5 separate regions of the Homo sapiens genome follow, and regions 2, 3, 4 and 5 are each linked to region 1. Evidence: promoter capture Hi-C in 16 types of primary human blood cells and fetal thymus (Javierre and others, 2016). All regions are on one chromosome and are shown on one strand. Each heading gives the region's core, a stretch centred on a gene start or on the middle of the fragment in contact. The rest is flanking DNA. Distances are from core to core; before and after follow the strand shown. Region 1 holds the start of NRN1 (neuritin 1). Region 2 overlaps FARS2 (phenylalanyl-tRNA synthetase 2, mitochondrial). Region 3 overlaps LY86-AS1 (LY86 antisense RNA 1). Region 4 overlaps FARS2 (phenylalanyl-tRNA synthetase 2, mitochondrial). Region 5 overlaps LY86-AS1 (LY86 antisense RNA 1).

Region 1 (2,700 bases), core at 96-2,595:
CTACAATTTAGACTTTTTTTTTTTCTGTTTGGTGCAGAAGAAAGGAAGAAAACCAGAGCTTAAAGGCGTTTAGAAAGGAAATAGCCCTGTTAGTTTTTCGGTTTTGACTCAAGCTGTCGTCGATAGCAGCTTGCACCTAGCACAAAGCCAGCTGCAGAAGTATTTTGTTGCAGGGTAGGCTACACCTACACAGGGTCTGTGCCTGAGCATCAAAAGACAGTGCAGGTGTGTGTGGGTCCGGGTGTGCGTGTGCGTACGTGATGTACGTGTGTGCGTGTGGGTACGTGTGTGTGTAGCCCAACAAATAAGCCCAAGAGGCGCATCAAGATTAGAAAGAAGTCCGCACACCAGCGCTTGCCTTGGAAATTTCCTAAAGCGCTGAGAGTTGGTTGGTAAATCACTAGTATCCGAAAACTGTCTTATCAGAGGCTCCTTCCCCGGTGCCCTACTCGCCCCCTAAAACAGGTGTCGCTGTGTCCCTTGAAGCGGCCTTTGGCCCGCTGGGGCATCGCAGGTGGGTAAAATTCAGAGGACATTCGGTGTTTATTTCTGGGGCCCCACGTGTGCAAACCAAACCCCCGGGGCCTGGGCGTGTGCGCGCGCTCGCGTGCCTTGTGTGCGGGCGGGCATGGGGGCGCTCGGCGCGGCTGGCGGGCGTGCGCGCGCGCGTTTGTGTGTGTGTGTGTGTGTGTGTGTGTGTGTGCTCGTGCGGGGGGCCGGGCTGCGTGCTCACGCGCTCCAGGCTGCGCCCAGAGCTCAGCTGCTGGGTTGGAGAAAAAGAGGGTAGGCAAGCGCAGGGGGCGGGCGGCCGAGGAGCGCTTTCGAATTAATCGAGCTAGCTTAGCTGTTTTTCCCTCTCCCGCTCCTTTAAACCCCCCTGCATCGTAGAGAGCGGGCTGGATTCTCTGTGGTGCTGATGGAGGAGGGGGAGCAGGTTGAAACAATCGAGTGGGCGCGCCAGGACTCCCCAGCTCCTGGCGGGGAAGGGAGGGGGAGCCCCTGTTCTGCGCAGGGAGGCGGCGGGGCTGGGGGGCCCCCGGAACGAGGAAGAGGCAGGGGTGACCGCTAGAATAGGAAAGTGCTCACCCCCGGGAGGCAAAATTTCGTTCAGATCGCACATTAATTGGAGATATCTGATTAATTCCAGCTTCTGATGACTATAAATGGCGATTCTCTACCAAGGTGTCTATATTAAAAAAAAAATCATTCCGTGTCATCCCCCACGTCAGGCCTGCTCGTGGGCGTGAGGCTGTACTTCCTCCGCCCCCTTCTAATGGAGTGAACCATTCCCAGCTCTCCCCCCCCCCTCAGCCTCTCTCTCTCTCTCTCTTTCTCTCTCTCTCTCTCTTTCTGTCTCTTCCTCGCTCCCTCTCTTTCTCTCCTCCCTCTGCCTTCCCAGTGCATAAAGTCTCTGTCGCTCCCGGAACTTGTTGGCAATGCCTATTTTTTGGCTTTCCCCCGCGTTCTCTAAACTAACTATTTAAAGGTCTGCGGTCGCAAATGGTTTGACTAAACGTAGGATGGGACTTAAGTTGAACGGCAGATATATTTCACTGATCCTCGCGGTGCAAATAGGTAAGTGGCCGCTCAGCCCGGCTGGAGGCTGGAGGCGGGAGGCAGCCTGCCCCGGCCCGAGGCGCGGAGGGGGACTAGCGGGTCCGCGGCCGCCCCAGGGTGCGGAGAAGCCGGCAATCCCCCGAGGGTGGGGGCATCAGTTCCTGGGGACTAGCGCGTCCCAGATCGGTTTTTCCTAAAGCTATAGATTCCAAATGTTCGCCAGGAAATGTGTGCGGCCGGACATTTTCTGGACACGGTTTTTTTCCCCCTTTTTCCTGAGCACACATCCATTTTTGTTTCCCTTTCTGGGTTTATACCAGGTTTGGTGCGCTCTGGGGCAATGTACTGGCCCCTGCGATACTGCAAGATATGATTTTGAAGAGTCGAAATGTGAATGCAGGAATAAAATGGCTAGGCAGCCAGGACTGGAAAGTTTATGTGCTGAAAGCAAAGATATTCCAGGGCTCAGACTGCTGCATTTAGAACTTTGTCATTCTCCCGCCCCTCCTCCCCCCTATATCCTAGCTGCAGCGTTTGCACGGGCACCGCAGACCCGGCTGGTGGGCAAATCGAGAGTGATAGGGAACTTCAGACCACATATTTTAACATGCTTACCATTGAAGAGGATGAATTCAGCCAAATTTACGTAGATATACTTTTCTAGATGCATTTGCCTGCTACTTTACACATTGGTGTCTGCATTTTATATATAGGAAAGGGTTAAGAAGTGTTTGGAATATGTCATGTCGGGTGTTTGTTATTTTTGTTTGTTTGGGATTGGTTATGGAAGGAATTATTTAGTCCCCATTTTATGTTAAGGAATGTTGAGTTGTAGTTACGCTGTCAGGGGTCTTTTTAAAGTTCACATTTTTACCATCCAGAATGAAGAAAAGATATAGAAGAGGGCACTAGAAAACCCCCTTCTCCGACACTGGGTCAGAACATTAATTAACGTGGCCTAAAAGTGAAAGTGAAGCAGGTTATTAATAGAATGGACAACACGGGGGAAAAAAGAAACTCCTGAAACGGAATTGTTACCTCCTATCAGTTCAGGCTGTGGCATTCTTTGCAGACAAATCCTTGCAGTATTGGGGGAGGGGGTGCTTTAGGTAATTGGTTTGGGGCAAGAAAGGAGAATGCATA
Region 2 (2,700 bases), core at 74-2,573, 560 kb after region 1:
TTCACCATGTTAGCCAGGATGGTCTTGATCTCCTGACCTCGTGATCTGCCTGCCTCGGCCTCCCCAAGTGCTGGGATTACAGGCGTGAGCCACCGCACCTGGCCACAAAATTTTTAAAGAGTATCTTACTGTAGTTTGTCCCTGCTTCCCCAGAAAACACTTCCTTCAGCCTCCTAGGTTACTGTCAATCCCAGCAGCCAATGGATGGGCATGTCCCCATGTGTCCTTCTTGGGACAGGATCCATAGAAGAAATCTTTTCATGAAGGGATTCTCTGGTCAAAGAAGTCTGGAAAATACGGCACACTCCCTCCCTCAAACAGAGCTACTTCTTCCGAGCTTGGAGACACTCTCCAGTAAAGAAAACTCAAACTTTTTCAGACCATCATTTGCCATACTTAGGTGACTATCAAGTCTTTATTTCTGAGAATCACCCAGTAATATCCAATTCTTGAATTATACCAATTAAGAATCACAATTTTAAAACCTGGCATAAATTTTGCCTAGTGATGACATTGCCTCATTTTGTTCACGGACATAACAACATGGCCATTTCATGAAGACATTGCTTCCAGCCTAAAATACAGGAATGAACCTTGAAAAAAAATGATATAAGAAAAATAACTTAGCAGATTGTGTTTATCCCCACAGTACCATAAATAATTCCTAAACTTCTAAATTGCCTTTTTGCAGGGGAGAAAATAAAACTGAGCCACTGAGAGCACATCACTACCTGCCTGCAAAGCTGCAGTGATCCCATGAAGCAAGAGTTTCATAAATAGTTTAAATAAAATCCAATTATATGAGCATCCTCTTTTTCTCTCTTTTTTTTTAAAGGTCTCTAAGAATTTCTTTAAGAGGAAGAAAAACCCTGATTAACCAACCATATACACCCAAGTCCTGCTGCTAGGCAATTTTCTATGTGGTGCTATACAACAAAACACAATCCTCTATGGGTTTTATTAAGAAACTCTAGGCTGTTGAAGATTTGAGAGTTAAAATGAAATCTGAAAATTATATAATTTAGGCCCCTCATCTTACAGATGAAGAAACTGAGACCCACAGGACTTGCCCAAGATCTCCAGCCCAGCTGGTGGCCAGGCCTGACTGGAGCCAGGTCTTCACTCTGAGGCCAATGTGCTTCCCACTGCCCATCCTTGGAAACTGGGAATTGTACTGAGCAGCTGAGGGCAGAAAGAGCCACGAGCAAGCTTCAAAAATTAGGTCAGTTCCCCCCCGCCCCATTTTACTGTTTCCATGAGCCTGAAGAAAGAATAACGAACATTGGGATGAGGAGTGGGGGGTCCACCCACCCACACAGCCATCCATCTAATTTATATATGGATATTGAGTGTCTTCTATGTGCTAGGCATTGTTCTAGGAACTGGGAATACCATAGTGATCAAAACCAAAAAAATTCCCTGCCCTAATGAAGCTTACATTCCACTGATTCCAGAGTCTTCGACCTGAGACTAATTAAATTCAGACACCTGGCACTAAGATTTTTTCCTCTCTCTCTCTCTCTCTCTCTTTTTTTTTTTTTTTTTTTTTTTTTTTGAGACAGAGTCACGCCTTGTCACCCAGGCTGGAGTGCAATGGCGCAATCTCGGCTCACTGCAACCTCTGCCTCCCGGATTCAAGCGATTCTCCTGCCTCAGCCTCCCAAGTAGCTGGGATTACAGGCACCTGACACCATGCCCAGCTAATTTTTGTATTTTTAGTAGAGACGGGGCTTCACCATGTTGGTCAGGCTGGTCGCGAACTCCTGACCTTGTGATCCGCCCACATTGGCCTCCCAAAGTGCTCGGATTACAGGCTTGAGCCATTGCACCCAGCCTGCGCTAAAATTTTAAAAAGATTATATTGCGAACATATGCACGTGCGTGCATGCACACATACACACACACACACACACACACACACACACACACGAGGATCTTCCATATATCAGTGGCTTTTCAAAAACCTCCCATGTAGAGGACATTCCCACCACCAATCCCTGTCTGGTTTTCAGAACCACCACCACAGCCCACTAAAATACTGAGAAACTATTTCAGTGGCTTCTCTGCAGAGGGAGGGAAGTAAAAAAGTCAAGTTCTTTCCAAATATCCTTCCTGCTAAGTTAGAAAGGGAGGTGAAGAGGAAATACTTGAGAGAAATAAATGAGCTGAATTTTCTGTGAAATGATTTTGGAAGAGAGACTCTTAAGCATTCTATGAGCCCTCGGTAAGCTGAAAAAGAATATGACAACTACAATGTATGTTTTATCAGCCAGCTACAGCTGATCAACAAATCACTACAAAATCTCAGTGGCATGCAACAACCACCACCTGTCTGCGGGGCTGGGGCTCAGCTGGTCCAGACTGGCTGGGCTCCAGGCCCTGAGGTTGGTTCGGGTCCACTCCACATGCTTCTTACTGTTCTGGAACCAGCAAGCTACACAGGGCATGTTCACCTCATAATGGCAGAAGCTAAAAAGGGCAAAAAAACAACTGCCAAGTACATTTCAAGCCTCTTTTCCTGTCACATCTGCTAATTTCCCTTTAGCCAAAGCAGTTACAGGGGCAAGCTCCAAATCAACAGGGCAGAGAAGTATATTCTTCTCATAGCAGACAGTGCTTCAAAGTCAGGGAACCAAGTGCACAGATACAGGGAGGGGTGAAGAACTTGGAACAATACTACAGTCTGATAAAAGAAGGAAC
Region 3 (2,700 bases), core at 106-2,605, 520 kb before region 1:
GAACAGGGGCGTTAATTTTTCATGGACTTACACTGTGATGAGGAGCATAAAAAGAAAGAGAGCTTTAGAAAAATAGTACTGAAACAAAATAAAAGAAGTCCTTCTCCGGTTTACACAGCAAATGGAGACTGTTATTGATATTTTGCTTGTTAGCAGACACGGAAGTTAAATACAGAGCAATTTAATGCAATTAACTCTTTGATGTAAATTTCCTGGGAAAGGAAGAAAGATTTTGCCAAGTCTAGCCCATTTAGAATCAGACTAGATTCTACTTGGAGGCTGCAAATATCACATTTTCACTCTGACAAGCAATTCTGCTTGGTAAAAGAGTGGCTTGACCCAGGGTAGGTGCCTATAATGACCCCAGGTAAGTCACTGGCCATGTGAACCTCTGATTCTCCTCCTGTTAAATAAGGGAATCTTAAAAGCTTTCTCTGATTATAGAGTTATCCAAATCTACATCAAAAAGTTTTATCATATAGAACAGTATTTTTTACATTAAATCTGGATTTGCTGCTGTTTTCATAGAAACAATACTAATATTCACTTTCTTCTTTCTGCTTCTTGATATTTTATCTTACCTAAAAAACTGTGATTTTTTTCCCCTGTGTTTCTTAATAGTTACATACCTAAAGTCAGCATGTTGTCCCAAATAACTTCTCAGTCTGTCAAGAACTATTTAATGTCAATTATCTAGAACTTGATCTGCAAATATATAAAAGTCAAAGCCACACTGGTTCTTTTTGCCATCTGGTTTGCCTTTCATTTTTTGGAGCATGGGAACACCAAGTTGAAGTGATTAGGCTCCTCAGTTCATGATAAGTGATCATCACTGGTCATGGCACTGAGGTAGGGAGCTTCTAAGGTGGCCCCCAGTGATCCCCACTTCCTGGTTCTCATTCCCCCATGTAATACTCTTCCCTTAAGTGTGGGCTGGACCTAGTGACTTGCTTCTAATAAATTGAATACAGCAAACATGAGACCGTGGCTTCCAACTTGTACATACTATCTCCTGCTCTGTCACTTGCTCTGAGGAATCAAGCTGCTGTGCTGTGGGCTGCCCTATAAAGAGACTCATATGGCAAGGAACCAACGGCCATGAAGAACTCAGGCCCTTAGTCCAACAGCCCACAAGGAACTAAATCCTGTGGCTAATAACCATGTTGGTGAGCTTAACAATGGATCCTCAGACTGTCATCTGAACTTTCAGATGAGACTGCAGCCCAACCCTTGACTGGAGTCATCTGAGAGACCATGAGTCAGAAGCATCTAGCTAAGCCATGCCTGGATTCCTAACCCATACAAACTTTGAGATAATAAACATTTATTGTTGTAAAGCTACTACAGGCCAGGTGTGGTGGCACATGCCTGTAATTTAGCACTTTGGGAGGTCAAGGTGGCAGGAACACTTGAAGCCAGGAGTTCAAGATCTGCCTAGGCAATGAAGAGAGACCCCAATTCTGCCAAAATGCTACTACTTTTTAGGATAATTCATTATGTAGCAACAACTGGTATAAGTACTCAGATTTTTAATTAATTATTTTTCTTTTTCATGCCCCAATCCTGCCAACGTTCTTGTATCCTACTTAAGCACATGCTGTAATGTTTTTAATACTTTTCCTTAAATATATATGAATGGTTGGAAAATTTGTAATGTTGTCTTGTGTTTACATTCTTTAAGTAAATGGAACTGTGTTTTATATTTTATTCTATGTTTTAACTTTTATTACTTCACTCCATGTTTTTGAGATTTATTCAAATTTCTTATCTAGATATAGCTTACTACTTTTGATTATTGCCTAACATTTCATCATTGGCATTTTAATCATCCATGTTCCAAGTGGCGGACACTTAGGTAACCTCCGGGTACTTGCTGTCAGAAAACAATATTGTAATGAGCACAATCACATCTGTCCTCTTACGGATGTGCCTGTTCATATCTAGGAGTTGAGATTAATGGGAAAATGAGTTGAGATTCATGGATAATTATGAATGCTTTTAGCATTTCTACTTAAATTGGCTTAAATAGTAAGAACCTAAATTGTCTCATGTAACAACAAGCGTTCTAGAGGAAGCATTAGCAGCTCAGTGGTGTAACCAAAGACTCGGGTCAATTTCATCTTTCTGCTCTACCGTCCTCTGTAAGTCAGTGTTATTTTTCCCACTGGCCACAAGATGATTGTAGCAGCTGTGAACATCACACACAGGCATGATCACAGCCAGTGTAGAAGAAGAGGGTTATAGCTTCCCATGCATCTCTTTTTATTACAGAGGAAAGCTTTTGCCAGAAGTCCATTAGTGGATGTTTTCTTTGGTCCCATTGACTAGCATTTTATATATATTATAAAAGAGACTGTGGAAGCAAGTGTGTGGAATTAAAGGACTCCATAGTGGGAGGCACCCTTTACTAACAAGGAAAAATCAGAGAAGCCTGTTTAGAAGTTTCTATTACATAATGTATATACTATTTATAGCCATTAAATACTGACTGAAAGCTATATTAGTGTATCAGTCAGTCGTTGTCAAAAGAACGCTGTGAAATAAACTTACACAGAACTAAATGACTTAAAACACAGCAATTTATTATCAGTGATACATCCGTGGGTCAGTTGGGTGTTTAGGCAGGCTTGGCTCTGGGTCAGGGGTCAGCTGGATGTTTAGGTAGGCTTAGCTCTGGGTCAGGTTTAGGTTGGTTCAGGT
Region 4 (2,700 bases), core at 60-2,559, 510 kb after region 1:
TCTAAAACATAGAATTTTACTTTTTAAAACCAAACCTGACTCAAACAAGTAGTCACTGACTATTTAAACTCTGAGTATATACCCTACATTTTAAACCATCCTCACAAAGCCTACTTGACACCACAAAAAAAAAAAAAGAAAAAAAAAAGGAGGAAACAGAAAACAAGAGCTAGAGAAAAACAACGTAAGGAGTATTGAAAGGCCCCAATAGTGGCCCAAGATGAACTTCTGACAGGAACTCCAATAATTCTTGCTGCTGAAATAGCGCTGGCACTCACTGTCATTGTATCACATGACACTGTCCACTGTGTCTTTAAACCAAACTGGTATTTTCATAATATAGAGGGGTATGCCATTAACACAAGAGACAAAATAAAAGCAAATGACAGTAAAATATTTGTGCAGCATGTTGTACTTTATAAAGTCATTGAACTGTCATTACATCTGTAGTGCTTTATGAGAAAAACATAAATAATTTGTTAAACGTTTGTGAGCACCTACTATGTAAGAGACCTTCATTCATTCCGGGTGCTTTCTGTGCATCATGTCTTTCAATCCTCAAAACAACTCCGTGAATAGCTAATACTACTGCTCCCATTTTATAAATGAGGAAACAGTCTAAGAGCCATCAAGTCACCTGTCCAATGTCGCAGAGCTAGTTGGCAATACAGCTAGAAGTTAGATCTCCAGTCCCAGCTTGGTGGTCCGGGGTAGACATAAGGTCCCCTATAGAGACTGCGACTTTGACTTTCCATTCCTCTTGGAGGTCGATACACTGCAGTCTTCATCTAGCCACACATCAAAAGACATTTGTTCTATCAATGTTTTGTCAGACCCTTCTTTCATTTAAAGCAGTATTTCTTAAGTGTTGCTCTGCACTGAGCACTGTACTAAGAGACATGTGATCCCTACCTTCTAGAATGTTAAATTCTAAGTGGAGAAAAGAGGAATAAATGAGAATGAAAAGCAACTGTCCAACAGTTAAGTAATGAGAGAGCAACATAGTGCAATATGTGGCTCATTTCTTTCTTTTTCTTTTTTTTTTTTTTTTTTTGAGACACAGTCTCCCTCTTGTCACCCAGGCTGGAGTGCAATGGCATGATCTCGGCTCACTACAACCTCCACCTTCCAGGTTCAAGCAATTCTCCTGCCTCAGCCTCCCAAGTAGCTGGGATTACAGGCACCGGCCAATAAGCGGCTCATTCCTAAATAAGTACACAGAATACAGGGCCATAGCAGAAAAAATCAATCCAAAGGAAAAAAATGTGTAGATGCCTCTGTGAGCCATGGAGACCATATTACAGGAAAAGCAGAGGCAAACATCAGCTCCAGCCCGCAAGGGCATGCTTATAACATTGGAAACCCTAAAGTGGTGGGTGGCAGGGCAGGAGCAAGGTCTGCAGAGTGTAAGGCTATATACACTCTAGCCACTCTGCAAATTCCATAAACAAAAGATTGCAGGGAAAGCCGGGCACAGTGGTGCATCTCCACATCAGCCTCTGCAACTGGGACTCCCTGGAATATGAGATTCTCAGCTTACTCATTTTCATATATTCACTGCCAATACTAGGCCCAGAACATGGTAGGGGCTCGATAAATACTTGTTGAATACAAAATAAAGTTCATAGAAAATATGCCAACTGCCAACATTGGCATTTACAGACCTAGTACAATGCTTAATACATAGCAGATACTCAATAAATATTTGCTGACATGATTATATTGCTGGTAGAATTTTAAATCTGTACTTAAGATAAAGCTGTGAAGAAATGCCCATTTAAATAAAACCAGCAATAAATAGTAATATTTTATCAATGTTTACATAATACATTTTACTTTTTCAGAGTTTATCCTTTAACTCATCTCTTGAGCTAGAAAAGTCGAATATACACTATCTTAATAAATCAGTCCTGTATTGAGTTATCTTAAGTGCTGTAGAAAGATCTCACTTCTTTCTGTAAGGCTGTTTTGTAATATATACACAAATTAGAATTATGTTTTTAAAGAAAAGCGTTCAAATATGACAATATACTATCTGTGTTTTCACCATTCAAAGTGTTGTTTGGTAGTTGAAACTTAAACTACTACTACTTTATTAAAAGTCATTTAATTAAGTGACCAAAATGTGTTGTGCTCTTTATTGCATTTTCACAGCTTTAAAATCTATGCACATACCGTTTCATAGAAAATGAGTAGTTTTTATTGACCTAGATAACGGTAGTTCTTTTGCACATTTAGTGATCTAATATTGGGGAGGTCAAGAAGTTTGGTTACTGAATTTGTTAGATACTAAGTCCTGTAAAAGGAGATCTCTAACCTCAAAAAGAATGTACATACCAGGAAAAAAAAAAAATCTTTACAATAGCACCGTGAGGTAGGTGTTATGAAAATTCTGCTAATTTGACTGGATATGATTTTCATGGAATTCATTGTGCTTTATACTTACATGTGAGGTGTCACAAGAGTGGCAGTAGCCTGTGATATCTGGTGAGTACAGAAGCAGTGGGTGTTAAAGGGACTAGCGAGAAAGAGGGTAAGATTACAATGGAAACAAAAATTAGCAATGACTATAAAATATGAACATGTAAGAAAATGACGAATGTGCTATGGCATATGCAGAAGAAGAAACGCTCATATCTTTCGGGGAAGGACTCCTGCAGCATGGGGAAGCACTGTGTTTATGGAACCCTCAGTAACTGG
Region 5 (2,700 bases), core at 108-2,607, 580 kb before region 1:
ACAAGCATTTATTTCTCACCATTTTGGAGGGTGGAGGTCCAAAGTTGGAGATTAAGGTGCTAGAAGATTCAGTGTCTGGTGAGGGGCCTCTGGTTCACAAATGGTGCCTTCTGGCTGTGCCCTCACATGGTGGAAGGGGCGAAGGGTTTCTCTTAGGCCTCTTTTATAAAGGCACTAATCCCATGTATGAGAGCTCCATTCTTATGACCTAATCACCTCCCAAAGGCCTTTCCTCCTAATACCATCACCTTGAGGCTTAGGATTTCAACATATGAGTTTGGGCAGGGCCACAAACATTGGCTTTATTGCAGAAACAGTGTCATCTGAAGACAGGGGTACAGATTCTTGAGAATCAAAAGACCTGGAAATGAAAGGAATCATAATTCAGGGATCGCACTAGCATTTAGAAATATTCCAAATGGACCAATCAGGAACCTTGTGATCATGGTGACCCTAGGACATTGGTCTTCAGGCTAGAGTGGTCTTCAGGGCATCAGCGTCAGCTGGGGGGCTTGTTAACATGCAGATTGCTGGACCCCACCCCAGAGTTTCTGCTCCTGTGTGTCTGGTGAGGCCTGAGAACCTGTGTTTCTAACATGTTCCCAGGTGATGCCAGTGTTGTTGATCTGGGGCCACATTCTGAGGACCTCTGGTTTAGCTTACAGAATTTGATCATTTGCAGAATGTACAATTAAAAAAAATCTTCTTAATAAAATGTTTTGTTTTATGACAGATGGCATTTTATATAACACATATATAACATACCCATATAGGATTAAGAGTAAGCCACATTCTCTAAGGAATTCTACTTACTAGTTCTGCCTACTGAAAATGGGATTTGATTGAAATCATTAGTTATGGCCGTCTAGTTCAGAAATCAACCCATAATGATGTCTGGAGTTCTTTAACTAGAACCTTTATAAAGACAGCCAGAGTGTTCTTTGAGAATGTCCTATTCCCTAATTATAGAATAAAATTAGAATCGGTTTATGGTAGTTATTTAAAATATGGTTATGTCTACGTAATGGTAACCAAACACACACATACTGTCAGGCTTTGATGCTGACTTCTAATCTCTTAGCAGGCTGTAGCTGAAGAAGCTGTGCTCTGGTCTCATTCAGATTTCTTTTCTACTTTTTGGACAATCCTCCTCTTCTTCCATGTCTCACACTGCTCTCCTTCATATATATATATATATAATTTTATTTTATTTTTTTGAGACGAAGTCTCACTCTGTCACCCAGGCTGGAGTGCAGTGGCATGATTTCAGCTCACTGCAACCTCTGCCTCCCGGGTTCAAGTGATTCTCCTGCCTCAGCCTCCCAAGCAGCTGGGATTATAGACGTGTACCACCATGTCCAGCTAATTTTTGTATTTTTAGTAGAGACAGGGTTTTGCCGTGTTGGCCAGGCTAGTCTTGAACTCCTGACCTCAGGTGATTCACCCACCTCAGCCTCCCAAAGTGCTGGGATTACAGACGTGAGCCACTGCACCCACCCTTGCTTTCCTTTCATAGAGGTCTTCTTGAGGACGGTGCCTTTCTTTTCTTGCAGAGTAAAAATATTCTTATCAAGATGACCATCCCTAAAGCCGTTCTTAAGGAGAAAATGTTTGTTTGAGGAGAGACTTAAAGAATCAAATGTGAGACTCTGGGGGCAGGAGTCCAGCTATGTATGTAAGCAAGTAAGGGTGAAGCTGTGCCACAAGAGAAAATACAATACTCCAGGGAGTGAGGGGAGAAAAAAGAAAGGCCTGGAGGGGAGAGAGGAGAGGAGAGGAGGAGAGAAGGGGAGAGGAGAGATAAGCAGGTGATTGGCTGCTGTGGAGTGGAGGGAAGCAGCCTGCCAGCAGGTGGGACAAGCAAAGGTCCCTTAGGAACAGATTCTGCATTGCTTCCTGTGCAGTGTGCAATGTGACAGCCCTCTCCACTCTGTGACCCACAAAAGGTCAGGGAAAGGGGGTTTGGGCCAATGTAACCTACATTACATGTGCCAGTAGATGGCAGACAGTCCTAACTAGTCTTGACGCTACACAGTGATGATGTAGCACTCTGTCTCCAGTGGCAAATGTACCTTCCTCATCATTTGTATCCGACTGTGGGTGCTCTCCTCTCATTTCCCTCAGATCTTTATTATATTAGGCAAAAATTTCCCTTTGCATAGCGCTGCTACTTTGGTTTTTTCTCTGTGGCCTGTCTGAGTTTCTGCCACACTGCAGTGGGAAGAGACAGGTTTGATCACATCCTGCCTTTGTCTTCTAGATCAGGGGGTCCCTAACCCCTGGGCCACAGACCAGTACTGGTCCATGACCTCTTACAAACTGGGCAGCACAGCAGGAGGTGAGCGAGGCTTCATCTCTATAGCTGCTCCCCATTGCTCGCATTACCGCCTGAGCTCTGCCTCCTGTCAGATCAGCAGTGGCATTAGATTCTCATAAGAAAGCAAACCCTATTGTGAACTGTGCATGCGAGAGATCTAGGTTGCACACTCCTTATGAGAATCTAATGCCTGATGATCTGTCACTGTCCCCCATCACCCCCAGATGGGACCATCTAGTTGCAGGAAAACAAGCTCAGCCCTCCCATTCATTCTGTATTATGGTGAGTTGTATAATTCTTTCATTATATATTATAATGTAATAATAGAAATAAAGTGCACAATAAATGTAATGCACTTGAATCATTCCAAAACTACCCACTAT

The links. Contacts are between HindIII fragments. The CHiCAGO score rates a contact against its expected background, and 5 or more counts as called.
Region 2: a contact is called between a fragment that was not itself captured here and the fragment with the promoter of NRN1 in region 1, in 2 of 17 cell types (naive B cells and total B cells). The highest score is 6.6, in naive B cells.
Region 3: a contact is called between a fragment that was not itself captured here and the fragment with the promoter of NRN1 in region 1, in 2 of 17 cell types (naive B cells and megakaryocytes). The highest score is 5.2, in naive B cells.
Region 4: a fragment that was not itself captured here is called in contact with the fragment with the promoter of NRN1 in region 1 in 3 of 17 cell types (total B cells, naive B cells and M0 macrophages); the score reaches 5.9 in total B cells.
Region 5: a contact is called between a fragment that was not itself captured here and the fragment with the promoter of NRN1 in region 1, in 1 of 17 cell types (total B cells). The highest score is 5.1, in total B cells.

The regions. Positions count from the first base shown.
Region 1 is chr6:6,005,570-6,008,269 of GRCh38, reverse strand. It overlaps NRN1 (neuritin 1), which reads left to right and starts at 1,345. Exons shown (of 3, transcript NM_016588.3): 1 at 1,345-1,575. The coding sequence starts at 1,521. The HindIII fragment of the contact is 16,379 bases long and covers 1-2,700 here.
Region 2 is chr6:5,443,322-5,446,021 of GRCh38, reverse strand. All of the region lies in intron 4 of FARS2 (phenylalanyl-tRNA synthetase 2, mitochondrial), which reads right to left. Among named protein-coding and RNA genes, the nearest start is that of FARS2-AS1, 13 kb to the left of the region's middle. The HindIII fragment of the contact is 224 bases long and covers 1,212-1,435 here.
Region 3 is chr6:6,528,547-6,531,246 of GRCh38, reverse strand. All of the region lies in intron 3 of LY86-AS1 (LY86 antisense RNA 1), which reads left to right. Among named protein-coding and RNA genes, the nearest start is that of LY86, 59 kb to the left of the region's middle. The HindIII fragment of the contact is 1,850 bases long and covers 431-2,280 here.
Region 4 is chr6:5,491,564-5,494,263 of GRCh38, reverse strand. The region is part of intron 4 of FARS2 (phenylalanyl-tRNA synthetase 2, mitochondrial); the gene reads right to left. Among named protein-coding and RNA genes, the nearest start is that of FARS2-AS1, 35 kb to the right of the region's middle. The HindIII fragment of the contact is 3,900 bases long and covers 1-2,700 here.
Region 5 is chr6:6,584,171-6,586,870 of GRCh38, reverse strand. All of the region lies in intron 1 of LY86-AS1 (LY86 antisense RNA 1), which reads left to right. Among named protein-coding and RNA genes, the nearest start is that of LY86, 3.2 kb to the left of the region's middle. RefSeq lists an enhancer at 1,679-1,788. The HindIII fragment of the contact is 3,216 bases long and covers 1-2,700 here.